3 separate regions of the Homo sapiens genome follow, and regions 1 and 3 are each linked to region 2. Evidence: promoter capture Hi-C in human tissues and cell types (Jung and others, 2019). All regions are on one chromosome and are shown on one strand. Each heading gives the region's core, a stretch centred on a gene start or on the middle of the fragment in contact. The rest is flanking DNA. Distances are from core to core; before and after follow the strand shown.

Region 1 (4,134 bases), core at 1,010-3,509, 150 kb before region 2:
TGGTTCCTTTGACCCTCGTGTTTATACAGATGCCACTGGAGTTCCCCGAGGGGTACCTGATGAATTTAAGGCTTGTAATCAAATAGCTGCGGGATTTGAGTCTATGTTTTTCTGGTGGTTAACTATAAATAAAAATGTAGATTGGATAAGTTACATCTATTACAACCAGCAACAATTTGTTAATTATACTAGGAATGCTATCAAAGGAACAGCTGAACAACTAGGACCCACCAGTCAAATGGCTTGGGAAAATAGAATAGCATTAGAAATGATACTAGCAGAGAGGGGTGGCGTTTGTGTCATGCTTGGAACCCAATGTTGTACTTTTATCCCAAATAATACTGTTCCTGACGGAACCATAACAAAGGCACTGCAAGGTCTTACTGCTTTATCCAATGAGCTAGCTTAAAATTCTGGGATAAACGATCTCTTCACTGATCTAACGGGAAGATTGTTCGGCAGGTGGAAAGGACTTATGTCCTCGATCCTTATGTCCCTTGCCATTGTAATAAACGTGTTTATTCTCGTAGGATGTTGTATCATACCCTGTGCCTGAGGGTTAATACAAAGACTTACGGAGACAGCTCTCACTAACCTCCAATTTCCCCCCGCCTTATTCAGACAAACTTCTACTTTTAGAAAACCAAGAACAGCAAAGTCGAGACATGCTAAAAAGGTTTGAAGAGAAAGAAGTATGAAAATCAAGAGGGGGAAACTGTTCTATACAGTGAATTCTTCTTCAAAGGTTCAGCTTGTTCAACTCCCTTGTTCTTTGTTCTCCATCTTCAAAGTCTAACTTCCTTGTTCTTTGTGCCTCCTTGCCCTTAGTTACCCGCTCTGTTTAACTGCCCTTCCCGCCGAAACTAGTCTTCCCACCGAAATCGCTCGTCCCGTCACTGTAACCCACACCCCTGTTCTATTTAAAATAGCCAATTGAGATTAGCTTAGATTGTGTGGTCCAACTCCAACCAGCAGGGACAGGACACAAAAACAGGGACTGACTGCCTTAGGGATAAAAACCCATTCCAGGCTGGGCACGGTGGCTCACGCCTATAATCCCAGCACTTTGGGAGGCCAAGACGGGTGGATCACCTGAGCTCAGGAGTTCAAGACCAGCCTATAGGACACAGTAAATTCCACTTCAAAGATTTTAGCCTTTTACCTTCCTTTAAATTCAAGAGGGGGAAAATTAATAAATACAATGAGTTATGAGTTCCATTTCAAAGAACCAATATGTCAGTATGTTCAGCTTCCCTGTTCTTTGTTCTCCATTTTAAAGTTTAACCCCTCGTTCTTTACGCCTCCTTGCCCCTAGTTTCAGTAAACAACCCCTTCCTAGCTTCTATCACCTGCTCTGTCCTTAGTCATCCTGAGTCACCTGCTCTGTAACCATCCTTCCCACCAAAACTACTCACCCCGCCACTCAGGCCTGTGCCCCTGCCCTCTTTGAAATAACCAATCGGAATTAGCTTAGACTGTGCGGTCCAACCCTAGCCAATATGGGAAAGACACAGCAGTAGAGACTAGCTGTGTAAGAGATAGGAACCCCTTCCCCTTCCTTGTCGGTGTGCTCTCGCCATTGCTCCATCCGCAAGATGCACCCTTCTATAGAAGGAAATTTGCCTTGCTGAGAAAACTGTTTGCCAGAGTGCTGATTCTTCTTTGCGGCACCCAAAATTTATTTCCAACAAGCCTGACCAACATGGTGAAACCCCCTCTCTACTAAAAAATACAAATTTAGCCGGGCGTGGTGGCATGCGCCTGTAATCCCAGCTACTCTGGAGGCTGAGGCAGGAGAATCGCTTGAACCCTGGAGGCGGAGGTTGCAGTGAGCCAAAATCGCACCACCGCACACCAGCCTGGGAAACAAGAGCGAAACTCCGCCTGAAAAACCAACAAAAAAACAAAAACAAAAACAAAAATCCTTCCCTTCTTTGTTCTGTTGGCTCTCTTGCAGCGGCCAGAAGAGCGAGCAGCACCCTTCTGCGTAAGTAAATTTGCTAAATTTCCCTTGCTGAGAAATCCTTTGAGTGCTCGTTTTCTTTGCGACTCCGAGCTCTTATTCCAACACCGAGATTCCCAGCCCCTTACCCGGGAGACGCCTTCCTCGCCGCCCAGAGTCGGCAGCATCTTAGCCACATCACGCACCACTCCCGGGTACTCCACGCACACCATGCGTCGCTCCCGCCTCAGCTCCACGGGGACGGCGGCCCCCAGCCCCAAATCGGCCGCCTCCGCCGCCATCCCTGTGCGTCTGGCAGGGCCCGCCAGGGTCCGTCCCACAAAGTACTCCCAAAGGCCTCGCCTCAATTGTTCCGCGAAGGAATCGTTCCGGGCTCCCTCACCGCTCGCGTCATCCTAACTCCCCGGGCTCAGCAAGACGCGAGGGCCTCCAGGGAGCAAATGGCCCATGGGAGGGCCCATGTCTTCGGGAAAACGACCGCCGTGTCCTCGACTTTTTATTTAAAATTAAGCGAGTTAGTCCACCGGGCGGGGCAAGCACCAGTCTCTCCTACTAGCCAGCGAGGGACCCGGAGGATAATAAGACACAAACCTCCCTCGACTTCAGCCAATGAGAATCCGAGGGCCGAGCGAGTTTTTTTTTGAGCCAATGAGAAGTCCGGAGGAAGCTAGGTCCCACCTTCTCCTCCAGCTTCGTACGTTTTAACCAATAAAGAACTAGAGTTAACCACGTCCCAGCCCTCTTCTGGGTATTCCACCCAATGACACCTCGGGGGCGGGCCAGAGGCAGACTTCCGGCCCGCCTGCTTGGTGGGGAAAAGGTCCCGGCTGAGAATTGATTTCCGCATTGGGTCGGCCTGGTATTCTGTCGGTGTTGGCGCTTCTTCTCCCAAGCTCTTGCAGCCCCCTCGGGACTAGGTTTCCAACGGCGCTTGCGGGGGGCCTCGCGGAGGTGGATGTGGAAAAGGCGAGCGCGGGGGAACTGTGCTGTAACCATCGCCCCGCCTCCACAGAAAGCCCCGAAGCGCCGGCTCGGGGCCGAACGCGGGCATCCGGCGTTCGTCTGTTAGGCAGGCAGACATTAAGCGCCTACTGTGTGCTGGGCCCTACTCAAGACCCAGGCGGGGAGAACGGCGTCTGTCCGGTAGGCGCCCAGGGCTGCTGCAAAGCCCCGGAGCGAGGAGTGTGGCCCCTCAAACAGGGAGGAGATGAGGTCCGAGGCCGACCGAGGTCAGAGACCCGCACCCACGAAAAGGGTCCACCCGTCGGGCTGGCTGCTTCCCAGTGCCGTGGAGAGCCCCTGAAGGTTTCTTTTTTTGAGAAGGAATCTCGCTGTGTCGCCCAGGCTAGAATGCAGTGGCGCTTTCTCGGCTCACTGCAACCTCCGCCTCGGGTTCAAGCTATTCTCGTGCCTCAGCCTCCCGAATAGCTGGGATTACAGGCGCCTGCCACCATGCCCGGTTAATTTTTGTATTTTTAGTAGAGACGAGGTTTCACCATGTTGGCCAGGCTGGTCTTGAACTCTTGACCTCAAATGATCCGCCTGCTTCGGCCTCCCCAAGTCCTGGGATTACAGGCGTGAGCCACCGCGCCTGGCCCCTTGAAGGGTTTTATGCGGAGCAGTGATCCCATTCATGCATTTGAAAGACCTCTCTGGCTGTTGTGTGGAGAACAGATCAAAGGGGGAGAAAGTGAGTTCAGATAAACCAGCTCCGAGACTGCATAATCCAGTCAAGAGATGAAGGGACTGGGTTTGAGAATATTGGGAGATGAGAATCATGGCCCAGCACAGTGGCTCACGCCTGTAATCCCAGCACTTTGGGAGGCTGAGGCGGGAGGATCAGTTGAGCCCAGCAGTTGGAGGCCAGCCTGGGCAACAGGGGAAGACCCCATTTCTACCAAAAAATACAAAATTAGCCGGCCATGGTGGTGCATGCCACAGTAGTCCCAACTACTCAAAAGGCTGAGGCAGGAGGATCCTTTGAGCCCTGGAGTTGGAGGCTGCAGTGAGCTATGATCATGCCACTTGCATTACAGCTAGAAATTAGTAAGAGCAAGTGACCCCTTGGGTATGGGTACCCCGTTTCTGAAGTGATTTTTTTTTTTGAAAGACACGATCTCCCTCTGTCACCCAGGCTGGAGTGTAGTGGTGTGATCATGGCTCACTGCAGC
Region 2 (4,140 bases), core at 1,543-4,042:
GAGGTGGGTGGATCACGAAGTCAGGAGATTGAGACCATCCTGGCCAACACGGTGAAACCCTGTCTGTAATAAAAATACAAAAAAAGTTAGCCGGGCACGGTGGCGGGCGCCTGTAGTCCCAGCTACTCGGGAGGCTGAGGCAGGAGAATGGCGTGAACCTGGGAGGCGGAGCTTGCAGTGAGCCGAGATGGCGCCACTGCACTCCAGCCTGGGCGACAGAGCAAGACTCCATCTCAAAAAAAAAAAAAAAAAAGATAGCTGCACCTTGCCATACTGAGGCCTGAGGCAAAAGGAGAAATCAGTAACACTGAGCCTACCTTTACTTAAATTTTTGACATGTTATTCTAAATGGATTTTAGGCAGCATTATTTTTGATTTTTAAAATATATTGCATTAAAACGTGAAAAACATCCACCTCAATGATTGAATTGCCGGCACTCCCTTAAGTTTTGTGCTGAGGGTGCATCACTTGCCTTGCCCTAATGTTGGCCCAGGGCTTACAAATGACTCAAAGGTGAAGCTCCAGAAAAGTGAGAGAGAGCACATAGGTGGAGTTCCAGGGAGAAAGGGCGTGTGCCCTTTCGGCCTGGCTTTTCCCTCATCATGGTGGGAGCTGTGGTTGGTAGTGGTTGAGAGGAACTGACTCTGTTCTTGATCCTAGCAACTTGTGACATGCACGCCAGGAATGTCATGAGAGGAGCTGTAATAAGCTATCCGAAGTGATCGTCCCTTGAACGAGAGCCACTGCAGCCAAATTAGTGTGGATGAAGGGCACAGGGGACGGGCACTTCTCGATCTGGGGGAGGAGGGAGGAAAAAAATGATTACCCATAGGTTTTAGGCTTTAATTGATTTGTATTTTTCCAGGCTGCTAAAGAAGATTGAATCATGGTAGGAAAAGCGCCTAGGGCTTAAAATAAATGAGGAGAAAGGCAAGTCATTTCAGAAATGTCCAGGAAGCAAAACAAACCTCTCCAGTGCAAATGGCAGGCATGGCTGTTGTGTTCTTTGCTCAGGGGGAGGCAGCTTCCTTTTCTTCCCCAGCTATCTTTACAGTTGGGTTTGACAAGCCTACCAAGGTGTACACACTTTGAGGAAGCGGTTTGGAGGGGAAGAGGCAACAGTGCTGGCTTTTACGTTGGGAGGGCATGTCTCTGGGCTGATGGCTGGTAGAAAAGGGCTTTAGCTGGAGCCTGGATGCAGAGTTCATGCCCTGGCTCTGCCCAATCTAACCAGTGGCCCTAGCCAAGATTTCCCCCTTTTCTGGGCCTCAGTTTATCCATCTGTCAAATGAGAGAGTTTGGATTAGCCTCTTCTTCAAGAGGCCTTCTGGTTCTAAGGCTGTATGATCAACAACTGATGAGAAAAGAAGCCCAGAAAGGGGAAGTGACTCACCCAAAGTTACCCAGCCAACCACTCCTCATTGTTCTAATCCTCCAACTTCTCATCTGTAAAATGGGAATGAAGGTGCCTATTTCACAGGATTGTTGGAACGATTAAATGAGATACTACTACTAATAGTAGCCCCATATATTGTGTGCTTACTGCATGCCAATTACTCTCCAATACATTAGCTCCTGAAATCCTTCAGCAGTTCCCTCTTCACAGGGCAGGAAAGTGAGGCACGGAGCAAGCAGAGAGTTTGCCAAGCTCACACAGTAAGAAGCGGAGCCAGAACTTGAAGCTGGGGCTGTCTGCATTGACTGTGCCATTTTCCCTCTCCATAAGGTACAGAGACAACAGAATTTTGCCGAGAGCACAAAGAGTTCAACAAACTCTTACAGCTCCTACGATTAACGGCAACAGACAAGAGCTAGAGATCCCAATTCAGTGTTGCGACTAATAAAATATCAAGCTGCCCCGTACCACTGGGAATTCATACGACTTAAAAAGCTCCGTCTCCAGCGCGAACCTTCCCCTCGCCCCCACCCCGAGACAGCTGTGCAGGCCCCTCCATCCTCCGGACCCCTCCATCTTTCCATCCTCCACCCCAGCTTCCAGTTTCTGACCCAGAGGCCGGGGTGGGGTCCGAGTGGGCCCACCCACACTCATCCCTGTTTACCCTTGCTTGTCCTAGAGCGCTCTTCGCTCCACGGAGCACCCAGAGAAGTTGGAGTGACTCCGTGAGTGTCGGTGCCCCGGAGGGTGGGGAGGCCCGTTCCAGGACTTGGGAGGCGAGGGTGGGTGGGGACGTCGGGCGAGAAGGGGCGGGGCCGCGGGCGTGATTGTTACCGCCGGTGCCATAGCAATCGGGTCACTTGGCGGCTTGGCCAGAGCCGGGGAGCTGGGAGGGGTCTACCGGGGCTCGACTCTAGGAGTTGGGCTGAGGATTTCCACCCGATCCTCGAACCTCCGGCCCATCTCATGGACGCCCCTCCCCCTTCAAACACCCTCCCCCACATTTATTCCCGCGTCTGTTTTAAAGATGGGTAAACTGAGGCACAGGGAGCCGGGCCGGGGAGCACTGACAGAACCAGAAGCAGGTTCTGCCTCCCGTCCCCTCGGAGGGCCGACTTGCCCCTTCTGGGTTTCGTCGGGGGTCTCAGATACGAGGAGGCCCAGCTGGAAGCCACCTGAGGGTGTCCCCCGCTAAGATGCGCAAATGGGAAAAGCGAGGCCGGGGTTGGGGAAAGAACTTGCCCGAGCCGCAGAGCGCGTCAGCCGGGGAGGTCGGGGCGGGGGCGACCCGCGCGACCGAGGATCGGGTATCTGGGCCCGGCGCGGAGCCTGCAGGGCGGGGCCGCGGCGCGTGCTGATGACGCAGTCGGCGCGGCGGCCCTAGCGACGCGGTTACTAGGGAGCGGCGAGCCGAGACGGCTACATGGACGCCACTATCGCCCCGCACCGTATCCCCCCCGAGATGCCCCAGTACGGGGAGGAGAACCACATCTTCGAGTTGATGCAGGTGACCGGACACCCCTGCCCGTCGCGACGCTGGCGGCGGCTCGGGAGCCTCCACTGCGACGTCGGGTGCGCGGCCGGGACCCGCAGCTGGGGCCGAGTCGCGCGCCCACGAAGCAGCCCAACTCGGGATGTACGATTCGTGTGTCGCCGTGACCCCGAGGGGGCCCTCGAGCTGGGGACGCTCCTGGTCCTGCCCGGGTTTGCCTCAGGCGGACCCAGGGGGAGGAAGGGGGCCACTCGAGCCGGGATTTGGTCCTGGCTGTGCCGCCAGCGGGCCTTATGGTCTGGAACCAGTCCTTTCCTTTTCTCGGTTTCCCCACCTGTGAAATGCCAGGTTGCAAGAGGTGGTCTCCCAGGGGCTCTCCCGGCGCTGACAATTACCATCTGTCGAATTTGTGGGGAGCCTCTCGGCCCAGGTTTCTGAGGTGGGCATTGTCCGAGTTCAAGCTGGCATCTCCATCCTCAGAGAGGGCCGCCTCTGGGACAGCAGCATCTCCCACCTTGGTCCCTCCTCCTCAGGGCCAGACGTCCCCGGCAGCTCCGAAGCTCTCATTCTGGCTCCAGGCCTGACTGGGCCCCCAGCTCACCGTGTGACTTTGGGCGAGGCCCCGTCCCCGCCAGGGCCCCAGTTTTCCCTTTTGCACGTGGTGGAGGTCAAGGCTTTCAGGAGCTGGAGGGGAAGAACTCTCAGCCACTCAAAGGTTCTGAGAGGCAAGGGGAAGCTGGAGCTCAGTTTTCAGATCATTTGTCTGCTTCCCAGGGTACACCCCATCCCCAGGGGCATGGCATGGAGGGCATAGTGGTGTCTGTGGTCATTTGAGGTTCTGCCCTGCACACTAGACAGCTGAGCCCAGACGAAGAAACCCGTGTCTGCACCTCCATCAAACACATTTCCCTCGGAAAGTGTTAACTGATAGAGGGAGAGCAAGAGATTCCTAAAACTGCTTGAGTGGCCAATCACAAATCAAATAGCTAGCTGGGTTAGAAGTCAGCAGGTCAGGGCAGGATGGGGGATCATCTGGAGCCCTGTTGTCTGCTCTAGAGAACCTGGTGTGTTTTCCACATTGATTGTTGGAGGAATTGCCCAGGAAAGCTTTTATTGATTTTGAAACAGGGTCTTGCACTGCTGCCCAGGCTGGAGTGCAGTGATACAATCATGGCTTACTGCAGCCTTGAACTCCTGGGCTCAAGCAATCCTTCTGCCTTAGTCCCTCCAGAGTAGCCGAGACTACAGGTG
Region 3 (4,234 bases), core at 50-2,549, 220 kb after region 2:
GTGTTCACACTCTTCAGTTATTTTGGCTCTGATTTTTTTTTTAACATCATATCCATCCTCCCTCACTTACTTGTGCCCTGTGAGGAATTGATTTTTCTTTCTTCTTCTCTATGTAGTAACACCTTTTGAAATGTCAGAATCTCCTAACGTCACACAGCGGCACGTTGCTGCTGTTGTACTAGCATATTTACCATTCCTAGCCTGCGTTCAGTGTAGTCTCACAAAGTCGATGTTGAGTACAGACAACTCTGGTTTGAATTCCAAATCCTTTTCTTCTTTTGGGTAAATGTTTCTTATGCAAAACACGAAAACCATACTTGTAATTGAATTTGCTGTTAACTCTGTGCTTAGCTTTGGCAGTAACGTTGTTTTGTTCATTCATTCAGTGTCTTTGAGCACTTTGAATGTGCAAGGCACCATTGGCTTAGGGGCCTTTTTCGGATTACTTTGGTTTCTTCTGTTTTTTTTATTAATACTTTTTAGATATAATGTACCATATATGTTTTAAAAATTTCAAAGAGTACCAAAAATATATATAGCGAAAAGTAAAGTCATCTATTCCCACTTTCCCTTAGTGGCACAGTTTGCTTCTCAAGATGCCATGGTGGTTATTACCAGTCTCTTGTATATCCTCCTGGGGAAATTCTCTGCATATCAAGCAAATTTGAGGATGTGTAATTCCTCTTACCAATTTTGTGAAGTTTTTTGTTTTTCTGTTTTGCTTGGTTTGATACATGAGTGGTTGCTTTGTTATGCAGGATGTTCTGTGCCTTGCTTTGGTTTCTTTGATGTGTTTTGGGCTCCTTAATTAGCACCATATTGGGCTACCTTGTTCTTTTTGATGACTGCCTAGCATTTCATTGTATGTATGTATGTACCGTGAATTACTGACTCATTCTCTTATTGGTTGGTGGAATTTATATTATGTTCAGTATTTTGCTACAAACAAGGCCACTTAAATACTCTACAGTCTGTAAAATATTCTACAACCTCTTTACACACACATATGGTCTATAGGAGAAATTTCTGTAAGTGGAATGTGCATTTTTATTTTAGTAGATAATGCCAACATTAAACTTGAAAGGGAATATGCCAGTGTGCACTCCAGCAGCGGTGTAGAAGGTCCAGTTTTCCCATGCCCTCCAATGCTCTCAGCTGCTTTATGTTTCTTCTTCTTCTTTTTTTTTTTTTTTTTTTGAGACAGAGTCTCGCTCTGTTGCCCTGGTTGGAGTGGAGTGGCGTAATCTCGGCTCACTGAAACCTCCACCTCCCGGATTCAAGCAGTTCTCCTGCCTCAGGCTCCCAAGCAGCTGGGATTACAGATGCCTACCACCACGCCCGCCTAATTTTTGTAGTTTTAGTAGAGATGGGGTTTCACCATGTTGGCCAAGCTGGACTTGAACTTCTGACCTCAAGTGATCCACCCGCCTTGGCCTCCCATAGTGCTGGGATTACAGGCATGAGCCACCACATCCGGCCCTTTATTCATTTTTCTATTTGAATTTTGTTTTGTTTTGTTTTGTTTTGTTTGAGATGAAGTCTCGCTCTGTCGCCCAGGCTGGAGTGCGATGGCACGATCTCGGCTCACTGCAACCTCCACCTCCTGGGTTCAAGAGATTCTCCTGTCTCAGCCTCCTGAGTAGCTGGGATTACAGGCATGCACCACCACGCCTGGCTAATTTTTTTTGTATTTCTGTAGAGACAGGGTTTCACCATGTTGGCCAGGCTGGTCTCTAACTCCTGACCTCAAGTAATCCACCCACCTCAGCCTCCCAAAGTGCTGAGATTACAGGCGTGAGCCACCGTGCCTGGCCAAGTTGGTCTTTTTTTAAAGATTGAATTACAGGGCTTTTTAAAATATATAAATTAAGGAAATTAGCTCTTTCTCTCAGGTGTGGCATATTTTCTCCCCAGGTTATCATTTGACTCTTGGTTTTGTTTAGGTATTATTTTTCCATTCTGAAATTTAAAATTCTTAGGTAATAAAACGTATCAGTGTTTTATTTTAAGGTTTCTGAGTTTTATGTCATCTGTTAAAAGGACAATTCCAGCTTTGTTTTCCTAACTTTATTTTTTTCTCACAGGACTTTTGAATTAAACCATCTTTTTCTTGCTGATATAAAATGGCCCTTATATTATTTTCTAAATTTTGTTATCTATTTGATTCTATTCTCAACTTTATTTGCTATTATAATCTCTATTCATGTGCCAGTATCATTATTTGTAATTGCTGTAGCTTTAAATTATTTTAACATCTGATGTTTTTCATAAATGTCTTGGTTATTTTTGTACATTTATTTTTCCATATGAACTTTCAAATCAGGTTGTTTGGTTATATATGTTATTTTATATATACACATTTGTGGCATTTTTATTAGCATCACATTACGTTTATGGAGTGATTTAGAGAGAATTAGCTTATATGTACTATTGCATCCTCTTATCTGGAAATAGGGTGTATCCTTCCATTTATTCAAAATTTACTTTATGCCCCTCAGAGGTGTTTTTAAATTTTCTTCATATAGATTTTGTATATTTTTTGCTAAGCTTATATTCCTTTTATCTTTTTTGTTGCTATTAACTTTTTATATTGGAAGGCTGTTGAAATTTTTTTTTTTTTTTTTTTTTTTTTTTTTTTTTTTTTTTTTGAGACTGAGTTTTTCACTTGTTGCCCAGGCTGGAGCACAATGGTGCGATCTCAGCCCACTGCAACCTCCACCTCCTGGGTTCAAGTGATTCTCCTGCCTCAGCCTCCCGAAGAGCTGGGATTACAGGCGCCCGCCACCATGCCCAGCTAATTTTTGTATTTTTAGTAGAGACGGGGTTTCACCATGTTGGCCAGGCTGGTCTCAAACTCCTGACCTCAAGTGATCCGCCTGTCTTGGCCTCCCAAAGTGCTGGGATTACAGGCGTGAGCCACTGCACCTGGCTATTGATTTTTATATGTTAATTTTGCATTCAGCTGCTTGACAAAATTATCTTGTTTGTAATAGATTTTACATTAGTTCTCTTATGGTTTTTTTTTTTGTAAGATAAAATAACATCTGCTAACAATAATTTTGTTTCCTATTTTCTAATTTTATACATCATATTTCTTGTCTGATTGTATGGGCCAGGACCTCTAGAACAGTATTCTAGAATAATGGGGTTAGTGGGTGTGTTAGTCCATTTTTACACTGCTGATAAAAACATACCCGAGACTGGGAAGACAAAGAGGTTTAATTTGACTTACAGTTCCACATGGCTGGGGGAGGTCTCATAATCATGGCAGAGGACGAAAGACATTTCTTACATGGCAGCAGCAAGAGAGAATGAGGAAGACGCAAAAGCAGAAACCCCTGATAAACCCATCAGATCTCGTGAGACTTATTCATTATCACGAGAATAACCGGCCCCCCTGATTCAATTACCACCTCACTCCTGCCCCCCTGCCCTTCCTCCTACAACATGTGGGAATTCTGGGAGATACAATGCAAGTCGAAATTTGGGTGGGGGCACAGCCAGACCACATCAGTGGGCAACCTTATTTTGTCCCTTTCTTCATTAAGAGTGCTTCTGATGTTCTACAACCGGCCACCCCTGTGTCCTGTCCGTTTGGAGTCTGCCTTTGTTTATCCTGCTCATGGCATTTTTTTTCTGTGTGTCAACAGCGCAGTGATGGCCCCTATGCCCTGGTGCTCGTGCCAACGAGAGAGGTAAGCAGGCTCCCTTTTGGGACAAGTTTTAAGCACATGCTTTCACTAATGTCCCGTTGAATTTAAAAGTGGTTTTACCATGTTTCTCCCTACTGCACAAGCCACTGCACACCAGTTCCATTTGCCTGGAAACCATCCTTCTGGTTCTTGTCAAGGAGAAAAATTCAAGTAGTCTCTGAGAATCATAAGTATGGAAAAGTATTTTCCTATTGTCTAGAAACTAATGATACTATTAAATGTCTGTTTAATTGGGTTTTGAATTAAGTTGCTAAAAAAAAACCTACAGAAATGCAATTTTTTAGCAACTTTATTCAAAACCAAAAGCAGTTGGCTCTGAAAATGAACCTTTATTTTTTTTAAGAAGCTACTGCTACCAAAAATGTTACTTGTTCCTAAAAGTTAAACTTTTCAATATTTTTTTCTTTCTTGGTGGAAATCTCTTCTATCTGATCTATTTTATTTGCCTACAGAGGCAACTTCAGATTAGGGTATGTGGTTTCTATATCAAATGCTAATCACTTCCTTACAGAGAATTGATC

Evidence for each region. The method cuts DNA at HindIII sites, captures the fragments that hold promoters and counts their contacts. A contact is called where the count stands out against the background at its distance.
Region 1: a contact is called between the fragment with the promoter of GTF3C5 here and the fragment with the promoter of AK8 in region 2, in 1 of the 25 tissues and cell types used here (ovary).
Region 3: a contact is called between a fragment that was not itself captured here and the fragment with the promoter of AK8 in region 2, in 3 of the 25 tissues and cell types used here (dorsolateral prefrontal cortex, lymphoblastoid cells and spleen).

The regions. Positions count from the first base shown.
Region 1 is chr9:133,029,122-133,033,255 of GRCh38, reverse strand. It overlaps GTF3C5 (general transcription factor IIIC subunit 5), which reads right to left and starts at 2,259. Exons shown (of 11, transcript NM_012087.4): 1 at 2,092-2,259. The coding sequence starts at 2,244. LOC105376306 (a long non-coding RNA gene) reads left to right here and starts at 2,834. Exons shown (of 2, transcript NR_135119.1): 1 at 2,834-3,106. RefSeq lists enhancers at 2,239-2,498, 1,943-2,594, 2,829-3,078. The HindIII fragment of the contact is 13,557 bases long and covers 1-4,134 here.
Region 2 is chr9:132,876,936-132,881,075 of GRCh38, reverse strand. AK8 (adenylate kinase 8) reads left to right here and starts at 2,792. Exons shown (of 13, transcript NM_152572.3): 1 at 2,792-2,904. The coding sequence starts at 2,821. It overlaps SPACA9 (sperm acrosome associated 9), which reads right to left and starts at 2,178. Exons shown (of 4, transcript NM_001316897.2): 1 at 2,062-2,178. The HindIII fragment of the contact is 8,008 bases long and covers 1-4,140 here.
Region 3 is chr9:132,651,909-132,656,142 of GRCh38, reverse strand. It overlaps DDX31 (DEAD-box helicase 31), which reads left to right. Exons shown (of 20, transcript NM_022779.9): 7 at 3,651-3,695. Among named protein-coding and RNA genes, the nearest start is that of DDX31, 16 kb to the left of the region's middle. The HindIII fragment of the contact is 4,990 bases long and covers 1-3,794 here.